3 separate regions of the Homo sapiens genome follow, and regions 2 and 3 are each linked to region 1. Evidence: promoter capture Hi-C in human tissues and cell types (Jung and others, 2019). All regions are on one chromosome and are shown on one strand. The core of a region is centred on a gene start or on the middle of the fragment in contact, and the rest is flanking DNA. Distances in the headings are between cores, read along the strand shown.

What was found. Contacts are between HindIII fragments. The study calls those that stand out against the background at their distance.
Region 2: a fragment that was not itself captured here is called in contact with the fragment with the promoter of KLHL7 in region 1 in 1 of the 25 tissues and cell types used here (dorsolateral prefrontal cortex).
Region 3: a fragment that was not itself captured here is called in contact with the fragment with the promoter of KLHL7 in region 1 in 1 of the 25 tissues and cell types used here (lymphoblastoid cells).

Annotation. Positions count from the first base shown.
Region 1 is chr7:23,103,038-23,107,292 of GRCh38, reverse strand. It overlaps KLHL7 (kelch like family member 7), which reads right to left and starts at 1,508. Exons shown (of 11, transcript NM_001031710.3): 1 at 1,147-1,508. The coding sequence starts at 1,266. KLHL7-DT (KLHL7 divergent transcript) reads left to right here and starts at 1,590. Exons shown (of 3, transcript NR_046220.1): 1 at 1,590-1,734; 2 at 2,976-3,043; 3 at 3,715-4,255. RefSeq lists enhancers at 562-641, 347-1,333, 1,122-1,401, 1,522-1,711, 1,334-2,320. The HindIII fragment of the contact is 7,258 bases long and covers 1-4,255 here.
Region 2 is chr7:22,549,508-22,554,196 of GRCh38, reverse strand. No RefSeq gene overlaps it. Among named protein-coding and RNA genes, the nearest start is that of STEAP1B-AS1, 11 kb to the left of the region's middle. The HindIII fragment of the contact is 3,432 bases long and covers 1-3,248 here.
Region 3 is chr7:22,499,231-22,503,465 of GRCh38, reverse strand. STEAP1B (STEAP family member 1B) reads left to right here and starts at 3,278. Exons shown (of 5, transcript NM_001382447.1): 1 at 3,278-3,352. The HindIII fragment of the contact is 6,072 bases long and covers 1-4,235 here.

The DNA of each region.
Region 1 (4,255 bases), core at 259-2,758:
ATAGATACATGAAAGTCAGTTACATAAATTAACGAATTCAGGCATTCACAGTACTTCAGCACAAAGGCCAGGCCAGGAAAGATTTAAAAGCATTCCCACAGACTGCACTGGTGCACTGTAGCAGGAGCTGGTGAACAAAGACAAAATCCCAGCAGTCAGCGTTTGCTTATAGAAACCAGAAGTTAATATCTTCATAAAAATCTTAAATTCCTCTACTGTTGCCCATATTCCCAGCAGAACCACCAGACAAAGCAAACTAGGTTTTGCAGTTACACATAACTCACATCCTGCTTTGTCCCCTTGAAACAGGATCCCAGTCAACAAAACCCAAACATTCCCACAAATCTACTTAGATGTGTATTATCTATAAATAAAGCTTACAGAAAGGAAAAAGTGACTTTCTATGCTTATCGGTGTAGATGTTATGGAATTAAAAAAAAAAAAAGCCTCTTTGTTTCACCTTCGCCAGCGTTAAAATCCGTTCTTTTCATAACCCACCTTTCGCCGATGTGCTGCAGAATTTCACGAATGCACCACACACCAAGGACAGAACAAAGAGCTCCTCTTAATAACAGAGGCGCACAGTGCCCTTAGAAGATGGCATGGTATTTATCGATGGCTGCTTCTGCTCTAAATTAGCACGAACAGGAGGACTCCTCTTCAACTAGCTCCACCGGGGAACACAGGAGGGGGCGGGGATCCTTATTTAAGAGCAGCTGATGTCAGGCCAGCAACTCTCCTCCCTTTGGGGGCTTCGGTTTGGGCTATGCCAACGGGTTTCTTCACACAAGATCTCACGGCACCTTAAAACGGCTCGCCAATGGAAGGATCCTCGCCCCACAAAGAGATAACTAGGGCAGAGCTGTTACACAACCGATACCCGACGGCGAAAGCCAGCCTGAGGAGTCCCCCAGGAGTCTGACTTGGGAGCTACATCCTCGGCAGACGAGAAGCACTTTTGCTCGAGAATTGTTTTACGCGCCCCTCTACCAACTGCGGAATCGCTCGCCTGCGAAAACGGAAGGAGGGGCGAGGACAGAGAAAGAGGGGCGCGATCCACAGGGCGCGGGGTTCCACCCCGGGAACCAGGGGCCCGAGCCCCGGACCACCTCCCACCGTCGTCCGTCACTCCCACAGAGGCGGTACCTGTTTCCGCATGTTATTCATGACGCCCATGAAACCCGCCAACAATTTAGCTTCTTCCCGAGCAGCAAGTTTCTTCTCGGTCTTCTTCTTGCTGCTCTTCTCCACCCCAGAGGCTGCCATCCTCCCTCAGCTCGGTTCACGCCCGGGGCTCGCCGGGCCGGGCGAGGGGTCGCACTCTCTGGGCACACTGGGGATTCTATCGACCAAACACGGCGATCGGCAGTGCAGCTGCAGCGCCCAGCTCTGGAACGCGCGGCAGGCGGCGGTGGCTCGGCCACTGCCGAAAGACAAGGCCGGGCGGCCCCCTTAGAAACGCTCAGGGAGCGACGCTACCAACTGGGCTGCGTCCCCGGGCAGAACCCGAGCCCTGCCCAGGAGCCTGCGCACTTCGCGCAAGGAGGCGGGGGCACTATGAGGAGAGTCAGGGGCGGGGCCTGACACGTCACAGTGGCGCGCCGTTCCGAGCAATGAGACTGCAGGCACAGGTGCGGCCGGATTCCCTGTCGCTGTCCCGCGCTGAGTGAATTTTGCCTCGGAGCTGGTCCGAGGTCGCGCCTGCTCTTTTGTGTGCCCAAGGCAGATTTCCAGGTTTCGGTTACGTGATTATCTTTTTTTTTTTTTTTTTTTTGATAATTGGGTTGTGGAACATGCAAAGGTGTCTCCCATCAGTGTAAGGCTTCATGGGACAGGGTCGGTGTTCAGTGCAGTATCTGAGCCTGGTGTATGGTAGGCGCTCAATAAATATTAAATGATGAAAGGATATTACTGCAAGTTAAAGTCATGTTACACGGAGCACAAGATTTATTTTCGTGGGATTCATAACGCAAGAGCACACAGTCCCGTTGGTGTCTCCTTGGCGTGCAATGAATGTCTGCCTAACTAGGCTGGCTTACTGTGTGTTTACAACTGAAATCAGTTGTCAGTCGGTTCTAGAAATCTTCAGTTAGGCTTCTCTAAGTGTTTTACGGGAACACGGAACTCAATCACAGCCCTCATGGAAATGTTTTTTGTAACCATATTCTTTCTACTGTATAGTAATATACAGGATTATTTGAAATTGTACATTATTTAACATTATGAAAACTTTATATCTCATTGGTTTTCCTCCTCGGTCTATATAGGACTATACAGAGACATTTTATGTAAAATAATTTACACCATTGAGGCTTTTTTTTTTTTTTTTGGAGGCAGGGTCTCGGCCCTGTCGCCCAGGCTGGGGGTGCGGTGCAGTGGCTAATCATAGCTCACTGAAGCCTCAGCACTCCTGGGCTCAAGCAATCCTCCCATCTCAGCCTCCCAAGTAGCTGAAACTACAGGCGTGCAACACCACTCTGGGCTAAGTTTTAATTTTTAAATTTTTTTGGTGGTGGTGGTGGTGGTGGTGGTGGTGGTGAAGAGGTCACACTATGTTGCCCAGGCTTGTCTCGAACTCCTGGTGTTATGCAATCCTCCCGCCTAGGCCTCCCAAAGTGCTGGGATTACAGGAATGAGCGGCCAGGCCTGGCCCACAGTATACTTTTCTTGTTGAGGACAAACCATATAGCATAATCCAGATGAAAGAGCAAGCTATATATACGCCTCAATTTTTACAAAAGAGTAAGATACTTATGTCTCTGTACTCTTTATCTTTCTTCTATTAATCTAGAGGTTCTCAGATGTGCCTCTATTTTAACTAGTTGATTTGGGGATTTCAGGTGAACCCTGGCAATAGGAATAATTTATTGTTAATAAAATTATAAATGAGAAAATTTTTCATTCACTTTATTAAATGACCCAGGACACTGAAGAAAAACGGAATAAATTTTTTTCTTTTTTTTTTAATTGAAAAGAAGTAGAAATCTGTCTTCTAACTCTAAGGCCTTGGGAGATGAAGGATCCGTGATTCAAAGGCAGAAATGTAAGTGATGAAAAAGAATGCTGTCCTGTAATAAGGCAAAAAAGAAACGAGGAACAGCATCCTTAGTCCTTGATGTTAGAACAGTCTTTTTACATATTGCTGAATATAAAACATCAAAGTTCATGGAAGAGCCATAGGATTCAGAGCTCAAAGAGGCCACAGAGATTATATAGTACAGGGATTAAGCATGAGACTTTGCCTGGATGCAAAGTCAAACATCTCAACTTTCTAGTTGTGCAACTTTGGGCAAATTGATTAACTTCTGTTATGCCTCAGTCTCCTTATCTGTGAAAGTAGAACCTACTACATGGAACTGGCGTAAGGTTTATAAAAATGCTTAGAGGGGTGCCAGCACAAGACACTTAAAATTACTTTACTGAGTTAATAATACACACATACTTCAGAGATATTTTGGGTTCTGTTCCAGACCACCACATAAAGTAAATATCGCAGTAAAGTGAATCACACAAATTTTTTGGTTTCCCAAAACATATGCAAGTTATGTTTACACTATACTGTGGTCTATTAAGTGTGCAATAATATTATGTCTGCAAAAGCAATGCACATACCTTAAAAAGTGCTTTGTTGCCAAAAAGTTGCTAATGATCATCTAAGCCTTTGCAAGTTGCAAGTTTTAAATTTATTTTTATTTTTATTTCTTTTTTTTTAAGAGATGGAGTCTTGCTGTGTTCTCCAGGATTGAGTACAGTGGCTTATTCACAGATGTGATCATACTACACTACAGCCTCAAACTCCCGGGGTCAAGCAGTCCTCCTGCTTCAGCCTCCTGAGGAGCTGGGACTACAGGCCCACATCACCATGCCCACTAGATTCACAGTCATTTTGCTTGTGGAAGGTCTTGCCTCAATGTTGATAGGTGCTGACTGATCAGGGTCAGGTTGCTGACTGATCAGAATGGTAGTTTCTGAATGTTGGGAATGGCTATGGCAATTTCTTAAAATAAGACAACAATGAAGTTTGCTGCATTGATTGACTCCCTTTCACAAAGGATTTCTCCATATCATGCAATGCTGTTTGATAGCATTTTACCCATAGTAGAACTTCTTTCAAAATTGGAGTCAATTCTCTCAAACCTTGTCTCTGCTTGGTCAACTAAGTTTATGCACTATTCCACATCCTTTGTTGTCATTTCAACAATATTTACAGAGTCTTCACCATGAATAGATTCCTTTTCAAACAACCACTTTCTTT
Region 2 (4,689 bases), core at 283-2,782, 550 kb after region 1:
ATGATTATAGATTTCCTAGGCTTCTCCTGCCATGTGAACTGTGCGTCAGTTAAACCTCCTTTCTTTATATATTACCCAGTCTCCAATATGTCTTTATAGCAGCATGAAAACAGACTAATACACCCACCTTGTAAACCGATTGTCAATCCACCTCATCTGCCTATGGCTTGGGAACCTTATCTCCCTTAGAACCCGGAGCTCAGGGGCAGGGGGCCCATCAGCTGGGAGCTTAGCCATGTGGGTTGAGGTCATCTTAACCCATCCTGAATCTAAGGAAATCTAAGACCTGGGACTGGTAGTGAAGATCAGATGCTCTCAGGAGGTCATCCTGCCTGGTTCGTTTTCCCCCTTCTCTGTGCTTTTCAGAGACATGGGGCTGAGGCTGGGTAGCTCCATCACCCCTCGGACTCAAACTTTTGTTCTCAAATTTTGGTGAACCCAAGAAACACAGTGGGGGCTTTGCAGCAATGCAGATTACTGCACTTTTGGTGCTGCAATTTCCATGCCACACATCTGGGATGCGGCCCGGGAATGTGTCTATTTCAAAACTTATTTGTCCAACAAACATAAACTGAATATGTACTCTATGCCAAGCAATGGTCTAGCCCTAAGCATATATCCAAGAACAAAACAAAAATTCTTCACCCTCATGAAGCTTCCATTCTAGTGTCAGGGAAGGACGGAATAAGGATATCAGGTTAAAAGGTGAAAAATGTTATGGGAAAAACTGAGCACAGTGATGGGGATTGGGAGCAGGTGCAATTTTCAATGAGGCCGTGAGAGTAGGCCTGACTGAGAAGGTGATCTTGAAACAAGGTCTCAAAGGAGCGGGGAGCAAGCCTCACAGATACCTGGGTAGAGGCTCTGCGGTAGGGAGGGGGATAGCTCATTCTAGGAGCAGTGAGGACACCAGAGTGACTGATTAGAGTGACCCAGGGAAAAGCTGTAGGAGATGTGGCCAGAGAGGAAACACTGGGCCATTTCCAAGTCTGGTGGCCTTGTTGGCACTCCGGCATGAACTCTGAATGATTCAGAGCAGCTTTACCTGAGTTTGCCACCCTGAATCCAGTGCATCAGAGTCCTAGGGAGGGATATGTGTGAACCACATGTTTTAGCCTTCCCATGAGTAGCTTAACCCGGTCCCCATCCTGACACAATTTCTATTATGTTCAAGAGAATCACCAAGGCTACTGTGTTGAGGATAAACTATAATGGATCAAGGATGGCAATGAGGGGAACTTTAGGGGGCCATGGCAGTCACTCAGGGAGACAAATGGGAAGTCTGGAGTGGTGGTGAAAGGAGATGAGGAAGACTAAGAATCTGCAGGTGGTTCTCCAGGGGATTCCAAGTTGCTGCACCTGTACACTGGCTTAGAGCTCGTGGAAGCAAAATTTAGGGGTGGGTGCTGCTGCCAGCCTTGCCTAAGTTTCCCCTGCTGCATCCAGGGTGTCCTGGGGCAGAGTGAAGAGTGTGGGGATGAAGCAGCATGTTTAGCCCTAGCAGAACCCAGGAGCTTACCCCATGCCCAGGCCACCCACATGCTTACAGCAGAGTATTGCTGGCAATTCCTGGTCATGCTGGTGCATTTCCTCTTGGAGTCAGACATGTGGGTTCTGTGATGATTCTCTGAGTCCAGGATTTATCCAGCCCAATGGGTACCTCATTAGCACCCATGTTATTTTTGGGAAGAGGTAAAGTCAGGAACTGATTTAAAGATATCCAGACCCTCTGTTGCAGGTTGAATTGGGTCTCCCCCAAATTCCCAATACCTCAGAATGTGACCTTATTTGGAATAGTCTTTGCAGATTTAATTAGTTAAGATGAGGTCACACTGGAGTAGGGAGGGTCCCTACTCTGATATGACTGGTGTCTTCATATAAAGGGGAAATTTGGAGACAGCCATGCACACAGGGAGAACGCCATGCAAAACAGATAGGGCTGATGCATCTACACCAAGGAACACCAAAGATTGCTAGCAAACCGTGAGAAGCCAAGACAGAGGCTTGGAACAGATTCTCCCTCACAGCCCTCAAGGAAACAAACCTGCAGAGACTTTGATCTGAAACCCCTAACCTCTAGAACTGTGGGACCATAAATTTCTATTGGTTAAACCACCTGGTCTGTGGTACTTTGTTGCTAGGCAGTCCTAGCAAACTAATACGCTCTCATTATCTGAGACCAGAAACTCCCCGCATCCCCCACCATCTCCCTGCACTGGTTCCAGATCTGCTGGCTCTTGCAGATGGCAGCCTACCCATCTGAATGAGAGCAGGATGTGGTAGAAGGCTCCAGACTCCGCATCGCTGCTTCAGTGAGAAGGCTGTTCTGTGTTACTTAGAATAGGACTGCTGTGCTCTGGTATTTTGTCAACAGCATCTTTCAGGACCCTCTGGAGAACTCGGTGCTTACGCCCCCACTATGATGTTTTTAGAGATGTGTTTAGCCTATCATTCATGCTTGGCTTTCTTCTTTCACTATGTACATATGATGAGCTATAGAAGTATGCATTTGGCATGATGAAAGTAATTTGAGGTTTATCCATTTAAAGATATTTCCAGATGGGTCTCTGCAAGGCTGAGGCCACAATTAACTGACAACTGTCCGCTGGCTATAAAAATATCCAATGCATTCAGAAGTTTTTGAGGGTATTGCTGGTATTCATTCTCACTTCTCTCTCAATAAGAACACTCCCTCTCATCTGTGTATTAGAACTTTGTTCTACAGTAGCAGCTGCTCAGCATCCTTGGGAGGCCTGAAAGGAAGGTTGCAGCCACAGAGCCTTCTGACACTCGCCGACTACTCAGCACCCTTCGTGCTTTTGAAGCAGTGTGGCGGGAGCATTCTGCAAGGGGGTTTCTCTAGACCCTGGACCTGATGGGGTAAAATCAAAAGTGATGGTCAGACATGTCCACTAGAGCAGCTAGGGTTAAAGAGACTGGAGATAGCAAGTGATGCAGAGAAACTGGAACTCTTCTACATTACTGGTGGGAATGTAAAAGGGTTAGCCCTTTTGGAAAACAGTCTGGCAGTACCTCATGAAGTTAACCAGACATTTACCACATGCCCCAGCATTCCCACTCCTTAGGTGTTTACCAAAGACAAATAAAAACCTGTGTGTACAAAAATGTATAAAATTGTTCATAGCAACTTTATACGTAAAATTCAAAAACTGGAAACAACGCAAATGTCCACCAATTTGTGAATGGATAAACAACTTGTGGTATCTCCATACCCTGGAACAAGACAGAAGACACACAACAACGTGGCTGAATATCAAAACATTATACTAAGTGAATGATGCCAGATTTAAAAAGACTGATTCCATTTGGAAAACTTTCTGGAAAAGGGAAACCTAGTAACAGAAAGCAGCCGAGGAGTTGCCTGGGGCTGTGTGGTCACAGCAGATGTGAAGAACAGTGAGGTAGGAGGGAACTTTTAGGATGATAGAACTGTTCCATGTTGTTTATGATGGCAGTTAAATGATTCGATACAATTACCAAAATTTCTCAAACTGTACACTTAACCTTGGAAAATTTTATTCTATGTCAATAATCCCATCAACAAAAAAAGAGGGGTGGAGGATAAAGTGTCAGCCGGCAAAAATAGCGACCAAAATCAGGCTATCAAACCAAGACCCCACCACAGTCCAGGGCTTGAATTCCAAGTGGCAGGAACCCAGTCTCTTCCAGCCTCTCCCGCTGCTGAAAGTGGGAATTCAGCCCACACGCCCCGCTTTTGCGAACCCGGCAGTGCAGATGCGCCTTCCTGTGGCCAAAGCTGCTACCTGCAGATGTGCTGGCGGGGGCCTGGCGCTCTGAAGGTGGCTGCCACCTGTGTCACTGCCATTTCCCTGGGGCTGCGGCACTGGGCCTCACCGCCCACTTCTGGGCGGTGTTTTGGGGGGTTGGGGTGGAGATTTCCTTCTCCTATGTCCCACCCAGGTGCCTTGCTGAGTATCGTACCTACGCTCAGGTGCCAAGCACCGCTGCCCATCGCACAGGTACCTCTCCGATGCGCTCCCTCCTCGCCCCGCTGGAGGGTTAGGGACTAAAGTAGGCTGGGGGGCAACCAGAACCTTCTCAGGCTTTCGCTCGGGCTCTGTTTGCCACACACCCCCGCCATCACCACCACTACCTTCCTGCCGACACTAGTCTTGCCCGCTCCTAGCCCTTGCAACGTCCTGCAGATGCAGCGCCATCGCCCCTCTCCATCCCCCACTCCGAGGCCAGCACAGTTTATTTTCCTTCCCTAGCCCAGGGAAGGATCAGCCGCTGTTCTGTCCCTTCTCCCAGGCTGGCTTGCGGATTCCCGCCCCCGCGGCAGCAGGCGAGTCCGCTCCTTCGCCCCCGCCCCTTTTGCTCGCTTTCTCCCACTTCCCACCGCTGACGCCTCCTCCGGAAACCCCTCGCTATCCCAGGATGAGAAATGGACGGGCTACAGCCGTACATATTTTCCTCACCCCACGGCCACCACGGCACCACCTGGGAAAGGGGCCTGACCGTCGAGATAGTTTGAGGCTGTGCTTGGTACCAGGCTCCACAAGGAGGAGGTATTCGATAGACATATTTGGGCAGTGCCAGATTCAACCATCTCTTTTACGAATTTTGAATTTGAGACATCATTATTTTATTCTTTTAAGGCAAACATAGGCAGGTGGTACACTGAAGCAGTTTAAACGGGTATTCAAC
Region 3 (4,235 bases), core at 1,609-4,108, 610 kb after region 1:
TCTATTATAAGTGTTCGGTATGCTGATATTTCTTTCTCCATGCCAGAACGTACTTTCAGAAGAAGCTGAAATATTCTTTATAGTAGGATGTAAATAACTGATAAGGCTTAATATGGCACCATTGCCAGGAACTTTAGTCTTTTCATAGATCGCAACATATTTAAAGCCAATGGAATATATCACAGCATTTTGAACATCACTGAACAGTACTCAGGCAGAGATCTGTGAGCTTGGAAATGAAGCACCTACTCTTACAACCTACCTGAAAAGATGTTTACTGTTGCCTGTCTTGGTGAAAGAGCAATAAGGGACTTTGAGTTTGGGAGAAAGAATTCAGAAGAATAGTTAAAACCTCCAGTCCCAAGAACAGACCTCCTCTCTACCCCCAACCACTTTTAAACGCAGACACTAGGGACAAACTGACCACATACTTTGAAGATTACAGTAGACCTTGAACTAGTAAAGAGAATGTATCATATGAGGTTAATAGAATCAGAAATTTTGGCGAGTGAAGCCTTATCATGTCTGTCTTAAAACAATCATTTGGACCAAATATTTCTTCTTGAACTTAGGTAATTTTTGCAGTCGTTTCAAATAAAAGTCTGACCATTCTTCTTTCGTAAGAGGCAGACTTGGAAATAGTGTTGATCATTACTTAAATTGCTGTCCCCTCAGGAGTTAGATTTCCAAAGGAAAAAATATAATTCTTGTCATTCACTTAAAATTTACTGTCTATTTCTCATTGTGATTATCTTTAATAGTATGATATTTTTTATTTTATCTCTCACACCATAGTATTTCATTTACTTTTAAAGTGGTCGTCTCATCAGGTTCTAAGATCAGGTTGCTTATTTGTCAGGCAAAAATACTCATGGATTCTAAATTATATTTTCTCCACAGCATGTTATTATGAAGTCACCAGTTTAGTATTTGACCTCAAATGACACTGAGGTCCATTATGTTAATATGCGCTCTCACTATAGTTTAAGTTTATTACAGAATATTCTGAAAGATCTAAATTTATTTGTAACTCGTGGGCAAACTCCCATTTTAAATCCTCTAGTTGTTTAGAGTCACAGCAAAACTAGCAACTTGCCTTTCAACATTTGCAATAGCATAATGTGGCTTTCCACAAGCCACACTTGTTTTTAAAAGTATGTGCTAAAGAGGCTGACTCAGCATTCTGAGATGCTCTGGCATTGTATTACCCGCCCCCCCCACAAAAATTTTTTTTCTTTATCTCATACCTCAAATTACAGGTTATTTGTATGCAAAAACTGCAGCTAGTTCATCTGTGATACTAACTGCTGGCGACTCAATAAAAGCTTTTTAGTAACATGTTTTTCTTAATCGAATATTGTGTTGCTTTTATAATATCTACAAACTAATTGATAAATCTCACACTTTTAATCATTTCACTTTGGAACATACTCTATTTATTCTCCACACTAAAATATTGGGCAAAAAAAACTTTTATAAGAAGTGCAGAAATAAAATTGCCAAAGTCTAATTATAAAACAAAAATATTTGGGGTTTGATTTTAAATGTTTTAATTAGAAAAGGAAAAGCAGTTTTAAGTGCAGCTTGCTATATAGCCATATTCATATCAATATATATTATTATGTTAACACAATAATAACTCTTTGCCCTTTTCATATGGAAAATATATTGTGAAAAAGAGAATGACCTTTGTTCTACCAAATGTTAAACAATAAAAGCATATCGTTTTGTCTGACCATTTAAGACCCATGATCACTTTTAAAACTCAACAATGCTTGGTTAAATAGTCTTAATTCTTTGTAGTCTGTGCTACACATACAAAGATTACACAGATTTCTTTTCTAAAACTTTAAAATTATTTTCTAGTTTCACTAGAAACAACAGGTGTAAGATTCTATTTCCACCACAAGGTGTCAGTCCACGGTAATTTAATCTTCAAAGGGCTTTAAACTAATCCATGGAAAGTCAGTGACTACAGAAAATGCTTATATTAAAACATGAACAGTCTTCGGTGCCCTAGCTGTGAATAAAAAACAATCATGGAAAATGTGGTTGCGCGTTTATTTTCCTTTGTGTTTTCTACTCAGCTTAGTCCTGAGAATGTTGTATACCAAATCCCCAGAATTTTGCAATTCATGTCTCAGACCCTATCTCGAGGCTGGTTCCAACGGAGAGAAGTAAATCCCCTGCTCAAGTTGTCTTTTTCTAAAACCTTGGAATATTAACAGTTAACTTTACTTTAGGTTTGGAATACTTCATTGAGCTAGGATATGGGAAGCTGCACTTAAAAGCTGAGGCAAGGAAGGGAGGGACGGAGTAAACATGGGGTTTAAGGGTTTTTTTTTTCGGCTGGGGAGCAGGGTTTGTGCGATTAAAGGTACACAATTTGAACAATTCAGGGAGCAAGTCACTCTCAGAAATTCAGCTTCGGATTCCTCAAACTGTCAATCACAGCCACTTCAGGACCGGCTGTTAGGTTTTAAATAAGGTGGCTGGGCGCGGTGGCTCACGCCTGTAATCTCAGCACTTTGGGAGGCCGAGGCGGGTGGATCACGAGGTCAGGAGTTCAGGACCAGCCTGGCCAAGATGGTGAAACCCCCGTCTCTACTAAAAATACAAAAATTAGCCGGGCACAGTGGCAGGCGCCTGTAATCCCAGCTACTCGGGAGGCTGAGGCAGGAGAATCGCTTGAACCCGGGGCCGGAGGTTGCAGTTAGCCAAGATCGCGCCACCGCACTCCAGCCTGGGCAACAGACTGAGACTCCGTCTCAAAAAAAAATAAAATAAAATAAAAATAAATAAGCTAACGTGTGGGAGGGTTTGTAAGCTCTAAACGGTCTATCTCAAAGTGTGATCTGGGAATGCTTCCATATCTCATGGGAACTTGTTAGAAATGAGAATCTCAGACCTCATCCCAGACATACTGAACCGGAAACTGTGGGTGGACAGCCCAACAATCGGTGTTTTAATATGCCCCCGGGTAATCTTATACACGCTGAAGTCTGAGAACCACTGCTCTAGAGAAATGCACAAACGTTCCTTAGTGGAGATTAAACAAAAGGCGAGGGGTTGGAGGGCGCGAAACGGACCTCAAGGGCAGGGCAGACGGCATTTGAGAGGAAACTGGGAGAGGCCGGAGTGCGACTTGGGGAGTCTTAGCCTCCAAGGACGTTCCCGAACCCTGCGGACGCGGGGCGCCAGCAGGTGGCGCTGGACGCGCAACTGACAAGGAGGCGGGGCCTGCAGCAGGCTTGGAGGCTTCGCGCTCTGGAGGCTCAGGCGCCGCGTGGGGCCGGCACCTCCCGGCAGCAGCGGCAGCTGAGACTCACGGTCAAGCTACGGCGAGGAGTGGGTGAGTCCCTTGAATCGTTCTCACTGGCCGTTTGCTCCTCGAGTCCGCCTGCGTGTCCCTGCAAGGCTGGGCGCCCGCTCCCAGTCTTGGGAGGGGTGTAGCGGGTCGCAAGCCTTCTCGTGACCTGGACGGCGGCCCTCCTGGGCGAGCGGTGCTCAATTCTTCGCTTATGCGCGGCTCTGGGGCGCCCTGTCTTCCAGCCCAGCTGGGTTGTGGCCGGGCCGGGGGCTGGGGGGAGCCAGGGACTCAGAGGAAGCCTTTTCGCTAGGGGCTTAAGGTTGTGGTAGATTATTAAGTTTGTGCTCAGGTTGGATTTTGATGGCAAGTTTTTTAACGTGGCAAAGTCGCCAGAGTTTGCTGTGCATTGACGAATGACTGGTGCACAGTACTTAAAATCGTGCTACTTCTCGTCTTCGGGTTTCCTGGTAACAGAGGTTTTCATTTTCAGTCCTTAGAACACTGGCCCTACTCTTTCAGGATCTGGGTGGGGTTCAGGTTCCCTCCAAAATAGTCAATCAAGGCTTTAAATATGTAATTCTGGTCAAATCCACTGGAAGGAGTTTGTAGACATAAATTTTTTGTACACTTCCAAATTTCTTACTTTGTTACTTTTGTAAAATACATTTCCCTCCACATCCTGACGTGTAATAAAAGGTTATTCATTTAACATGAATGTTAAGCACAGAGGGAAAGCAATGCTTAAAAAGAAAAACAGCACAGTGAAAAAAAAACCCAAAAAACTCGACTTCACTTAGTTAAATGTAAAACAAGTGTGCACTTGAAAGTATAAAAGGTTGGAAATGCAGTGCAACCCACAATGTATTCCAGGCATTGGGTTTCTTCATATTCTCAACTGCGGGACATAAACATGAGTCAGTTGGGC